Linked DNA regions of Homo sapiens: regions 2 and 3 are each linked to region 1. The links are contacts of gene promoters, found by promoter capture Hi-C in blood cells and fetal thymus (Javierre and others, 2016). All regions are on one chromosome and are shown on one strand. The core of a region is centred on a gene start or on the middle of the fragment in contact, and the rest is flanking DNA. Distances in the headings are between cores, read along the strand shown. Region 1 holds the start of DHRS3 (dehydrogenase/reductase 3). Region 2 overlaps VPS13D (vacuolar protein sorting 13 homolog D). Region 3 has its middle 5.1 kb from the start of LINC02766.

The links. Contacts are between HindIII fragments. The CHiCAGO score rates a contact against its expected background, and 5 or more counts as called.
Region 2: a contact is called between a fragment that was not itself captured here and the fragment with the promoter of DHRS3 in region 1, in 2 of 17 cell types (activated CD4 T cells and non-activated CD4 T cells). The highest score is 5.6, in activated CD4 T cells.
Region 3: a fragment that was not itself captured here is called in contact with the fragment with the promoter of DHRS3 in region 1 in 1 of 17 cell types (activated CD4 T cells); the score reaches 6.4 in activated CD4 T cells.

What each region holds. Positions count from the first base shown.
Region 1 is chr1:12,616,341-12,620,240 of GRCh38, forward strand. It overlaps DHRS3 (dehydrogenase/reductase 3), which reads right to left and starts at 1,870. Exons shown (of 6, transcript NM_004753.7): 1 at 814-1,870. The coding sequence starts at 1,008. RefSeq lists enhancers at 1,495-2,126, 2,127-2,758, 2,759-3,390 and a silencer at 3,626-3,877. The HindIII fragment of the contact is 18,116 bases long and covers 1-3,900 here.
Region 2 is chr1:12,489,632-12,493,531 of GRCh38, forward strand. The region is part of intron 67 of VPS13D (vacuolar protein sorting 13 homolog D); the gene reads left to right. Among named protein-coding and RNA genes, the nearest start is that of SNORA59A, 16 kb to the right of the region's middle. The HindIII fragment of the contact is 5,953 bases long and covers 1-3,900 here.
Region 3 is chr1:12,518,470-12,522,369 of GRCh38, forward strand. No RefSeq gene overlaps it. Among named protein-coding and RNA genes, the nearest start is that of LINC02766, 5.1 kb to the right of the region's middle. The HindIII fragment of the contact is 2,047 bases long and covers 934-2,980 here.

The sequences.
Region 1 (3,900 bases), core at 620-3,119:
GACAGCCTGCCCACTCTCCCCACTCTGGCACCAGGTCTCCAAAACCTGGAGCAAGGGGTGCCAGGACCACCAAAAAGTTAAAGGCCGTGTTTGGTGGGCAGGACCCTCCTTGCAGCACCACCTTCCAGCTAAATGGGGAGGGATCCCTGGGGGGTGTACTGGGGGGGAGGGGACAGGGTTGAAGGTGAGAACAAGGGCTCTTTATCAGTAGCTGCTTACCCTGGCCTCCTCTTTCCTGCTTTCCAAACACCTGGGCCTCTCAGTGTCGGTCCGGCCAGACTACTGCATACAAGACCGCTCTTCCCTTTTCAAACCCAAACCAAGTACCCTCTCTCGTGTCTTCAGAGCTGCAGCCGCCCAGGTTGGGGCTGGGTAGCGGGTTGCCAAGGAAAATACGAGGCGCCAGCTAGCAGGCGGCTCCCAGCTCTACCCAGGAGTGCGCACACCCTGCACTCACCAGGGTGGCGGCAAGAAAAAGGGGGGAAGGCGGGGGAGGGGGGCACAACACCTTCCTTTGGGAGGCAGGAATGTGGGAAATGGTGGGTCTCTTAGGTTTCAGGGTGGGGGTGAATAGCCAGTCAGCCAGCCACCGATCCCAAAGGAGCGGATCAACTCTGAACCTGCCAAAAAAGACAGTCCGGTGCCCGGGAAATTTACAAGGTGAAACCGACTAGCTCAGCACTCGTGGGTGGCGCGGAGAAGTGGGGTGGCCGGCGACTCTCAGCTCCCGGGCGCGGGATCCCGCAGCGGCAGCAGGTGGGCTTACCCCCGCCCCTGCGGCCCCCCACTCCCTGGAGTCGCAGTGCCTGGTACCTTTCTGGCGCCGCGCTCCGCGAACTCGCGGGCGAGCTGACGCCCGATGCCTCTCCCGCCGCCGGTGATGAGGACGTTCTCCCGCGACAGGTCCCGCAGCTTGGCGGGCAGCACCAGTCCGACGGCTGCTTTCACCACCAGATAGATCATCTGTAGAGGGAACATCACCAGCGCGCCCAGCCGTTTCCACACCATCCTCCGCGCCGCGGAGCCGGGCAGGGGGCGAAACTCCCCGGGCCGAGCAATACAGGAATTAAAAAACACCCCGAACAATAAATAGTAAACCGAATAAGGAGGAGAGAGGCGTCCCACCTGGCCACTCTTGAAATCACCTCTTCCCAAATGCAAAGCACCGGGTGAGAAAAAGAAAAAAAAAAAAAAAAAAAAGATAAATTCTCCTCTGGGGGAGAAAAAGCGTCTCCTAAGGTTGGGACGGTAAAAGAGGTGGAGGGGGAAGCCGGAGGTGGAAAGTTCTAACAAGAAGTTTCTTGCCCCAGCAGCCGTTTCGGCTGGGGAATTCTCAGGTAATGTTTACAGACTGACAGAGGAGTTTAGGGAGGGGAAGAAAAAAAAAAAAAGGCACCAACCACACGCGCGCACCCTGCCTCGGTCCCGCGGTTTCAAAGTGCAAGATTAAAAAAAAAAAAAAAAAAAAAAAAAAAGCTGATTCCAAATTGTAGCGCCCCCACCCCCACCCCGTCTCCAGAAAAAAAAAAAAAAAAAAAGTGGGGGGAAAAAGTGCTTGGAGCTCCCAATTTCAGCCCGCGAAAGTCTCCCGACTCATTGCTATTCTTGGGCTCAGGAAATTGCTTAAACGCGATCTGATTGCCAGCAACGTGCAGGAGAAGTGGGGGGTCCGGGTGTCAGTTTCTTTACGTGCAGCGCTCGCCCTCGCGCGCGCTCGCTCGCTCCGGCTCCCTCCCTCCCTCTCTGTTCCAGCAGAGGCTGGGAGTTGCCGCTCGATCCAGCTCCCCTTCTCTCCCTTTTTAGCATTTATTGCCTTCTTTTTGTCCTTTCCAACTTGGAGAGGGTCCGGGTGTGGAGCGCGCGTGGATCGGACGCCTTGGTCTGCGCGGCCCTATTCATTCGCTCCCCGGGCAGCCGCGTCGCGGAGAGGGCGGCCCCTTTTTCCCCCATTTTTTCAATACCCCATTAAGTCTGATTGACAGTTAAAGTTGTTGGGAGGCTTCACTACCGTTCCTCTGAGTGGCTGCTGCGGCCTCCCCTCCCCCTGCGCCGTCGCGGGGAGCGCGCATAAGGCGCGCACTCGGGCTCGCCGGGACTCGCGCTCTCCCGGGACTGGCTCCCCTCTCTGCAAGCCGGGACTTGCCGCCGGTGTCCCTGAGGGCTCGCAGCTGTAACTCGAACACGCTGGAACCGACTCCGGCGAGCCGGCTGCCTTCTCGAGACGTTCCTCCTTGCCCGGGCCGCCCGCGGGCCAGGTGATCACCCCGAGTGTGGAGCAGGCCCGGGGGAGCTTGCGTATGCCTTGATCCAACCAGGTCACCCAGGGTTTTATTTCAGGTCATTTGGTCATCCTCGGCCTCCAGGTAGGATCAGGAAGCCACTCCTCACCTTTGCCCGGACCTCTTCTGTGTTCACGTAGAGTGGACTTTTAAAAGCCTGACCCAAGTGCCTCACGATGCTTAGGGGGAAGCCGCTGGGGAGCAGGACTTTGCTTTGAGGGGAGGGAGTAGTCAAGGTAAAGGAACCTCTGCTCCGAGTGCCAATAAAATCCCCACAAGATTAGCTGGGAGCATATTTATTGCTCATCTGAGCTAGAATTACCTTGACTGACACCAATTTCCTTAATAACAAAAGCCTGTAAACAAAACGTCCTATTCGTGCGCCCCTGTGCTGTGCAGCCAGCGTCTCCTGTCCTTGGGTCTCCCTGGACTGCCCTGGCGGGGCACCCACCTTCTAACCTCCTGCCCTTCCCGACCGGAATGTCTCCCCTGCTGGAGGGTGGGACCGAGCTATTTAGAGTTGTCTGTTGCAGGAAGTCTGGGAGGTGAGTCACTAAAAAGCAGCCCCAGTTCAAAGTGCTGATGGGACTTGCCTCCCGCCCCCCTGCACGTTCCCGGGGCCGGAGGAGCGAGAGCGAAGCAGGGAGCTGCCCTGTAATCTGGGGCAGCCGTTTCCAGCCCGCGACTTGTTCAGACGGCGATTCCTGGGCCTCACCCCCAGAGATTCTGATTCAGCAGGGCTGGGTGCGCTGGGATCGGTACTTTCAATGCTCCGCCTGGTGAGAAAGTCACTTCGAAAAACGCTGATCTGCGGGGAGGGGAGGCTGGGATTACCTCGTCACCTGCAAAGACCTAGTTCTGGGGAGAGGTTCTGCAGGGGAGGATCTTCCTTCTGGGTGAAAAGCCACTGGAAGAGCAAAAGGCAGGAGAGGCTTAGGATGAGCAACTGTCCTGCACTGAGGGCCTATATTCTGACACAGTCCTTCCCCTGACCTTGCAATCGGGGGACTGTTATCCCATCGTCCAGGTTACCCAGCCAGGAAGTGCAGGAGGGGGGATCCCAATCCAAACCTCTTCCCACTCTGACCAGACGGGAGGAGAGAAGTGGAGGATGGGGTTCAGCTAAGGGTTGCAGAGCAGAGACCCCCCCACCCCCCTAACGCCCCCAAGAGTCTGACCGAAGGGCGGACCAATGTCTCCATCAGACCCCAGGGCCGGAATCCATTGTGGTGACGGCCTCCTCTCATCTTCGAGGTCTGTAAAAATGGGAAAGCGATTCCAGCCTGGGAGTGACAGGCCTTTCCCACCCAGCAGCGGCTGGTGTCCGCCAGGCCTGCGAAGAAGCCTGGAAAGATCTGAAGACAGAACCAGGCTGCAAAAGCGGGCTTTGCTCATCTGTTGTCCTCGGAGCCGCCTGGTGGCCCAGATAGGATACTGCGCCTCCGAGCTGCCCGGCCTCCAACCCAGCGGCGTTCCTGCTAACTAGCCATGCTTTTCTTCCAGGCATTTCTCTCATGTAAGGTTAACACCCCAAGTCTAAAAGGGCTTGTGAAGATCATAGTCCTCCTCCCCCACCCCAAACACACTTTTATGGCTGGGGAAACTAAAGCCAAAAGATATG
Region 2 (3,900 bases), core at 1,016-3,515, 130 kb before region 1:
GATGTTACACCCTAGCCCATCTTAGATCCCAGACACCTCAACTAGGGTTCCTCGTGTGCACCCATGGCACTCTAAATAATACACTAATAAAAAGAATAGGTAGCATTTTATCGAGTGCCTATTATGTGCTAGACTCTGTTCTAAGCACTGTACATGTATTGACTTATCTACTCCTCACAACAACCCATCATTACCCCCACTTTATAGATGAGAAAACCATCGCTCCAAGAAGTCACATAATTTGCCTGTGGTTACAGTTCGTAAGTGGTGGAGCTGGGATTCAAACCCACTGGGCAGGCTGGCTCCAGAGCCGATCCTCTCAGCCATTATATTATGCTGCCTACTCTAGTGCTCCCTGTCTCTCCTACTGCTTCCCTGCTGTGTTCTTGTTGCCATTTCTGTTCATCTCCTCCACTGAATTGCTGTAAGCTCCCTGGATACTTAATTCATCCCAGTCTTCTTCAGGACCTAGTGCTGGCCTCTGCATATGATAGTTTGGGAAAGGTTGGTTGAATAGGGGACTGGAGGAGGCAGGCACAAACCATTTGCAGGGCTCTAAGTAGGCTCGTTTTTCTGGCTACCCTAGTTTGGATCCTTAGTCAGTAATTCCATTTAAGAACCAATCTCTACTAGCATAGGGTTTCTTTCTGCCCAACCTATTTTCCATGTGTCCAAAATCCAAATTGTCCCAACCTACGGATTGAATACTATCTTTGAGTGGGTTCTAGAAGGTGTATTTCTCTTTCTCTTGAAACCTTGGGGAAGAATTTCTCATGTAAACAGAGGCAAACTTTAGAAATTTTCATCCTCTAATAGAGTCTTCTCTGATTACAGTTTGCACTGAAAGGAGTAAAATCTGTTTATGGAGAAGAAATGCTTTTCCACTTCGTCTTTAGAAGTAGATGCATGTGGCCAAGAGGAGGGAGCTACACGTCAGAGGTAGTTGCAGCCTATGGCATGATGGGAGCTACAGGTCCGAGATAGATGCAGCCCACAGCATGGTGGGAGCTACAGATCTGAGATAGATGCAGCCCATGGCATGGTGGGAGCTACAGGTCTGAGATAGATGCAGCCCACGGCCTGGTGGGAGCTACAGGTCCAAGATAGATGAAGCCCACGGCATGGTGGGAGCTACAGGTCCGAGATAGATGCAGCCCACGGCATGGTGGGAGCTACAGGTCCAAGACAGATGCAGCCCATGGCATGGTGGGAGCTACAGGTCCAAGACAGATGCAGCCCACGGCATGGTGGGCTTCTTGGGCTTGCAGACATTGTACTGCTGTGGATACCAGAGGGTTTTTCACCAATTCGTCTACTCTACTGCAGACAGTACTATTTAGACAGACTGCGGGGTTTCTCTTAGAGAAATGACAAATGTTTGATTAGGCCATTTGGTCAAGAACCCTGGTATCTTGTAGCTGTTATCAGTGACCAGTATTGGAAGAGGTAGTCTGGATTGACCTTCGTTCTCAGTCTAATTGTGCACACTCGAGCACAGTATATATCAGTAAGATACTTGATTAAAACAAAAGCCCTGGACACATACATAAAGTGAATGCAAGCACAACCCATCACACAACCCTTAAGGAAGATGGCAGCCATCAGTTGAATAAACATTCTATGATGCTAACGTCACATGTGTGACATACACTTTCTACTCACTTACTGATTGTTTTTGAACATCACTTGGCTGATAGACATTGGCCATGACAGACTTCTCAACCAAATTAAGCTGTGTAGGGGTATGTGTATGTGTGCACAGCATCTGTCTTAACTAACAGACCTATGACATAGTTACTCATCGTATAAGCTACGAATAATTAATGCCTGGCTAAATGTTGACTTTCAGGCTGAAAGGCAAGATCAACCAAGTGGAATTGGCTGGATCTCCCTGTGTCACCTTGTTTGGATTTACTGTTGATTTTTTTTTTAAAAGACATGAGTTGTTACTACTCTGATCATTGGTTTTGGGCCTCCGGTGTATATCAGATAGCAATGGCCAGATGCAGGCACACTCTGTATTGATTGCCCTCACTGGAAGGATATCTGCAGTGTATCAGCCACTGTATCCACAGCCCCTTCCCTGGGGGAAGAGTCCTCCATGCTGTACAGCAGACTCCCTGACATTTTCATAGAGTTCAAAGCTCAAGTTGGTTTGGTGCTGACATTCTGGATTAGCTGGTTGACTGGAAGGACTGCTTCTTTCTATACACTGTGAAATTTGTAAACCGCAGCAGCTGAGGGCTTAACATGGCCGACAAGCTCCAGCTGGCAGCAATTAAATATACCGCAGACCTTTGGCCAAACAAAGGTTTGTGGAGGCAGAGTTGCTGCATGTGCGCTGAACAGACTCCTAGGTTGAGTGTTGGTTCATAAGAGATGCTGTCGACTAAGGAGAGGTGAGTGGGTGGATTTTGGCCACCTCTTGTTCGGTGATCCATTGTCCCCAGAATTATTGTATCAAGACCCTGCCCAAGTAGCAGCAAAGGTGGTCAGAGGAAAGGAACAAAGCCACCAGGGAGGCCGCAGGCCTAACAGTGGTGGGCCTGAGTCGTTTAGACGTTGATCTGCTGCTGTAGCACCAATGGCAGGATCTGCAGCTACTCCACTTTTTTAAATTTATTAATTTATGTATTTATTGGGTACCACTATGCTGTAGGCTATAGGCTGAAAGGAGAAGATGGGAATGAAAAAACAATAAGAAGACATTTAATATCCATTCAAGCAGCAAAGATTCAAGAGTCTAGACCAGTGCTATCCAAAATACAATTTAAATTTAAAATTCAGTCCTTTAGTTACACTGGCCACATTTCACATGCTCAGTAGCCACACGTGGTCAGTAGCTATGTATTGGACAGTGCTGTCCTAGACAATACCAAGTGTTGGATATAGATCGCTAGGGCCCCTTAAATGCCTCATTGGCAGGAATGTAAAAATGGTTCAGCCACTTCGAACGCAGTTTGGATTATCTTGTTAAGTGAACGTTTATATCTTGTGAGCCAGCAAATTCCCCCTAGATAGATTCTCAAAGTTCACCAGGAAACACGTACAGGAATGTTCATAATAGCATCATTTGTAATAGCAGAACCTGGAAGAAACCCATGTGCCATCAACAGGAAGATGGATATATCATGGGATAGTCATACAATGGAATATGAACAAAGCAGAGACATGGTGAATTAATCATGGCTACACACAAAAGAATACCTGAATCTTAGCAATGTGACAGCGACATCCTTTTTCAAAAGCCCAAAACTAAACCCAAAGAACATAACAAGAATGTACTGGAGCATCCTTTGAAATGTGGTAAGGCTACATAAAAAAGAAAAGCACAGGAATGAGAAACACAAGATTCAGAACAGCGGCTGCCTTAGTTAAAGGAGGAACAGGGATTTGGGGTGGCAGAAGACCAACTTGTGGTCCACGATTGAGTGATGGAGTTTTTTTTTTTTTGCTTTCACAGATGTTTATTTCAAATAAATAAAGAGAGCCCAATGATGAGAGTGGGCCTTGAACTGAGGATAATAAGCCCAGTCCTAAAGACCAGTTATTAAAAAAAAAAAAAAAAAAGGACTGGCCGGGTGCGGTGGCTCACGCCTGTAATGCCAGCACTTTGGGAGGCCGAGGCGGGTGGATCACGAGGTCAGGAGACCATCGTGGCTAACACGGTGAAACCCCGTCTCTAATAAAAATATAAAAAAATTAGCTGGGCATGGTGGCGGGCGCCTCTAATCCCAGCTACTCGGGAGGCTGAGGCAGGAGAATGGCATGAACCTGGGAGGCAGAGCTTGCAGTGAGCCAAGATTGCACCATTGCACTCCAGCCTGGGTGACAGAGCGAGACTCCATCTCAAAAAAAAAAAAAAAAAAAGACTAGAGTCCTTTCCCTCCAGGTGCTCAT
Region 3 (3,900 bases), core at 707-3,206, 98 kb before region 1:
GGTGAAACCTCGTCTCTACTAAAAATACAAAAAAATTAGTTGGGCGTGGTGGCGTGCGCCTGTAGTCCCAGCTACTTGGGAGGCTGAGGCAGAAGAATTGCTTGAACCCAGGAGGCGGAGGTTGCAGTGAGCCGAGATCGTGCCACTGCACTCCATCCTGGGCGACAGAGCGAGACTCCATATAAAATAAATAAATAAATATTCCATGAACATATGAAACAAAAGTATATTATCTCTTTGAGGCATACAAATAGAGATAGACAGACAGACACACAGAACTTTGTAGACTATCTGAATTAAGTCCTACAGGATCTTATTTTGTGTGTGGGAGAGACTGCCTTGCATCTTCAAGTGGCCTGCGGGGCAGAGTCTCTAACTCCAGCTATATCCTTTGGAAGTGCAGTAAGTGCTTAAAGTAAACAAAGTTAGAAGAAAGGAAAAAGAAGAACACAGCAGTCTTAATTAAGCTTCCTCCAAATACTCCAGTTGGAACTTCAGAAGGATTTGACGCTGGAACAATTGCACTGCAGAGCTGCCTGCCCCACGCCCAGGAGCGGGGCCAACCCACTTGTCGCTGAGGGGAGCCAGATCGTGTTCTCCCACAGTCTTACCCAAGGAGCACGGCCAGCGTCAGCAGCTCCCAGGGGCTCATAAAACTTCACACCTCATGCTTATTCTGGTCTGACTCAAAAGCACAGAAAGGTCACGGGTACGTTTTGACTTGGAGGAAATGTGTGAATCTAGACCAACTTGGCTCTTGGAAACCCCGGGCAAGTGAGCCCCCAAGGGAGGGGGTGTGTGGGAGACGGGAGGGGGCGGTGCTGGGAGGGGGCGGGTGCTGAAACAGCTCCCAGGGCCACTTTAGAGGGAAAATTCCTGCCTTTTGGGCGTATTTTCCTAAGATGCTTAAGGGGTACACAGAGACTTCTGGGAAGCTTGGCAAAGCCTGCAGAAAGGCAACTCTCGATCTGTTCCATGGTTTGTCCACAGAGATCGAGCATCCCTAGGTGTTCCCAGACAACACACGTGAGTCTGATGCTACAGAACCTAACCCTCTGCCCCTCCAGCAACAGGGAGGCACTTCCAGCCCCTGCTCTTGAGCACGTACTGGGTGCCAGGCTCGGTACTGGATGCGTGGATGTACAGTGAATAGGGTGGCATTCTTGCTGCCCTCACTGAGCTAGCTATACTAGTGGTGGACGTCAGGGTGTGACAGGGAAGACTCAACCGAGAAAGAGGCAGATGGTCTGAGTCCAGCAAGAGTGAGGAGAGTTCATGAGGCACCGGGAAGAGGACAGTGTCCTTTTGGAGCCCTGAGGCAGGGACCTGCTTAGCACAGCTGAGTCCCAGGATCCCTGGACTAGCTGGAGCACAATGAGAGGAGGTGGGGGGCGCAGCCGGGCCAGGTCATGTTGGACTCTGTAAGCCACGCTAGGAGAGGCTATAAGCAGAGGGTTCCACAGTGAGGTTGGCATCGCAAAAGAAATACCTGTCTGGCTGCAGATGGAGACAGGGTAGCATGAGTTAGTAGTGGAGAGCAGCTGCAATAGCCCAGGCAAGAAATAAGGAGGCTTGGATGAGGATGGGGGCAGAGAGATGGAAGGGAGCCAATAGAATCCGGATATGTTTTTGAGGGAGAACAGAAAAACCAGTGAGATTGATTTCATGCACAGATTAGGGGCCAAGCACCGTGGCTTACGCCTGCAATCCCAACACTTTGGAAGATGGAGGCGGAAGGATCACCAGAGCCCAGGAGTTTGAAACTTCAAAACCAGCCTGGGCAACATAGCAAGACCCCATCTCTAAAAAAAAAAAAAAAAATTAGCTGGCCCTGGTGGCACACGCCTGTAGTCCCAGCTACTAAGGAGACCAAGACAGGAGAATTACTTGAGTCCTAAAGTCAAGGGTGCAGTGAGCCGTGATTGCACCACTGCACTCCACCTTGGGAGACAGAGCAAGACTTGTCTCAAAAAAAAAAAGAGAGAGAGATTAGGGAAAAAGAAATATCAAGGGTAGCTTCTGGGTTTCTAGCTTAAGCAACCAGTGATGTGTTTTAAACCATGGGGGCAGATTTGATGATAATGAGAGTAGAATTTGAGATGAGAAGGGGGCCTGGACAAGCCCTAAGGAGCTCCAGCATGTGATGGATGTGTGTAGGAGCACGAGCAAAGGAGATGGCGAAGGAGCAACTGGAGAGGTGGCTGGCAAAATAGAAGACAATGCTTCGGCCCGGCGCGGTGGCTCACGCCTGTAATCCCAGCACTTTGGGAGGCCGAGGTGGGCAGAACACGAGGTCAGGAGATCGAGACCATCCTGGCTAACACGGTGAAACCCCGTCTCTACTAAAAATACAAAAAAACATTAGCCAGGCGCAGTGGCAGGTGCCTGTAGTCCCAGCTACTCGGGAGGCTGAGGCAGGAGAATGACGTGAACCCGGAAGGTGGAGCTTGCAGTGAGCCGAGATCATGCCACTGTACTCCAGCCTGGGTGACAGAGTGAGACTCCATCTCAAAAAAAAAAAAGACAGTGCTTCGAGAAGGAAGACACAGTCAACTGGATTGCATGGCACTAAAACGCCAAGTAAGACATATGTTGTATTCAACAATGTAGAGGACATTGCCTGTAAGTTTTGTTGGAATTTCAGACAGAGCAAAGTTAGGCAGAATGAAGCACCAATGGCAGGTTAAGGAGAGATCGTGAGTATGACACAGTGGCCATGGAACTTTGGCCCATGACAGTGACTTACAAGGGCGGTCGGTGGGAGTAGGAGCCTGCGTGCTGGAGAGAGTGCAGATCCAGCCTGCAAACAATTAAAAAACAATAATAAAACTAGGACTAAAAGCCGGCTGCTTTTTACTATCACTGTGCTCTTGGCAATTCTAAACAAAATCTGGAGATTTGGGGTGGAGATAAAATTCTCCTCCCCTCAAAAATCTTTAGTGAGTTTAAATTCCAGTGAGTTTTAGTAGATATGTAGGCAAGCTTTAAATTAGTACACTGTAGTACTTTTCCTTTAGTAAATCTTGTACACCACGTGGACATTAATTCTGAGATCTGCCGGTTATGCAGTGGTTTGCCCACCAAGCGTGGACTCAGCTAACACACCTTCATTTCAAGAGAATGTTCTAATGGTTTGGAATTGTTCAGGCTTGCTCGGGGCACAGTGGAGTCCCTAACCCCCCTGTTCCAACATATTCCTGCATTTAAACAGATTTTAAGACAAAGCAATGGGACTTGAGTTGCTTCAATGCTGTCATTCTGTGTGACCACTTGCGGTTTTATTTTATTTATTTATTTTTTTTTGAGACGGAATTTCACTCCTGTTGCCAGGCTGGAGTGCCATGATGCGATCTCGGCTCACTGCAACCTCCACCTCCCGGGTTCAAGCATTCTCCTGCCTCAGCCTCCCATGTAGTTGAAATTGCAGGCATGCACCACCACATCCAGCTAATGTTTGTATTTTTAGTAGAGACGAGGTTTCACCATGTTGGCCGGGCTGGTCTCGAACTCCTGACCTCAAGCTGAGATTTGCCTGTCTCAGCCTCCCAGAGCGCTGGGATTACAGGTGTGAGCCACTGCACCCGACCTCACTTGCAGTTTATTTGTGTTTTAAAACTTAAAGAGTGAGGTCAGGCGCAGTAGCTCATGCCTGTAATCCCAACACTTTGGGAGGTCGGTCAAGGCAGGTGGATCGCCTGAGGTCAGGAGTTTGAGACCAGCCTGGCCAACATGGTGAAAACCCATGTCTACTAAAAAAACAAAAAAATTAGCTGGGCATGGTGGTGCGCACCTGTAATCCCAGCTACTCAGTAGGCTGAGGCAGGAAAATCGCTTGAACTCGGGAGGTAGAGGTTGCAGTGAGCTGAGATCGTGCCACTGCACTCCAGCCTGGGCGACAGA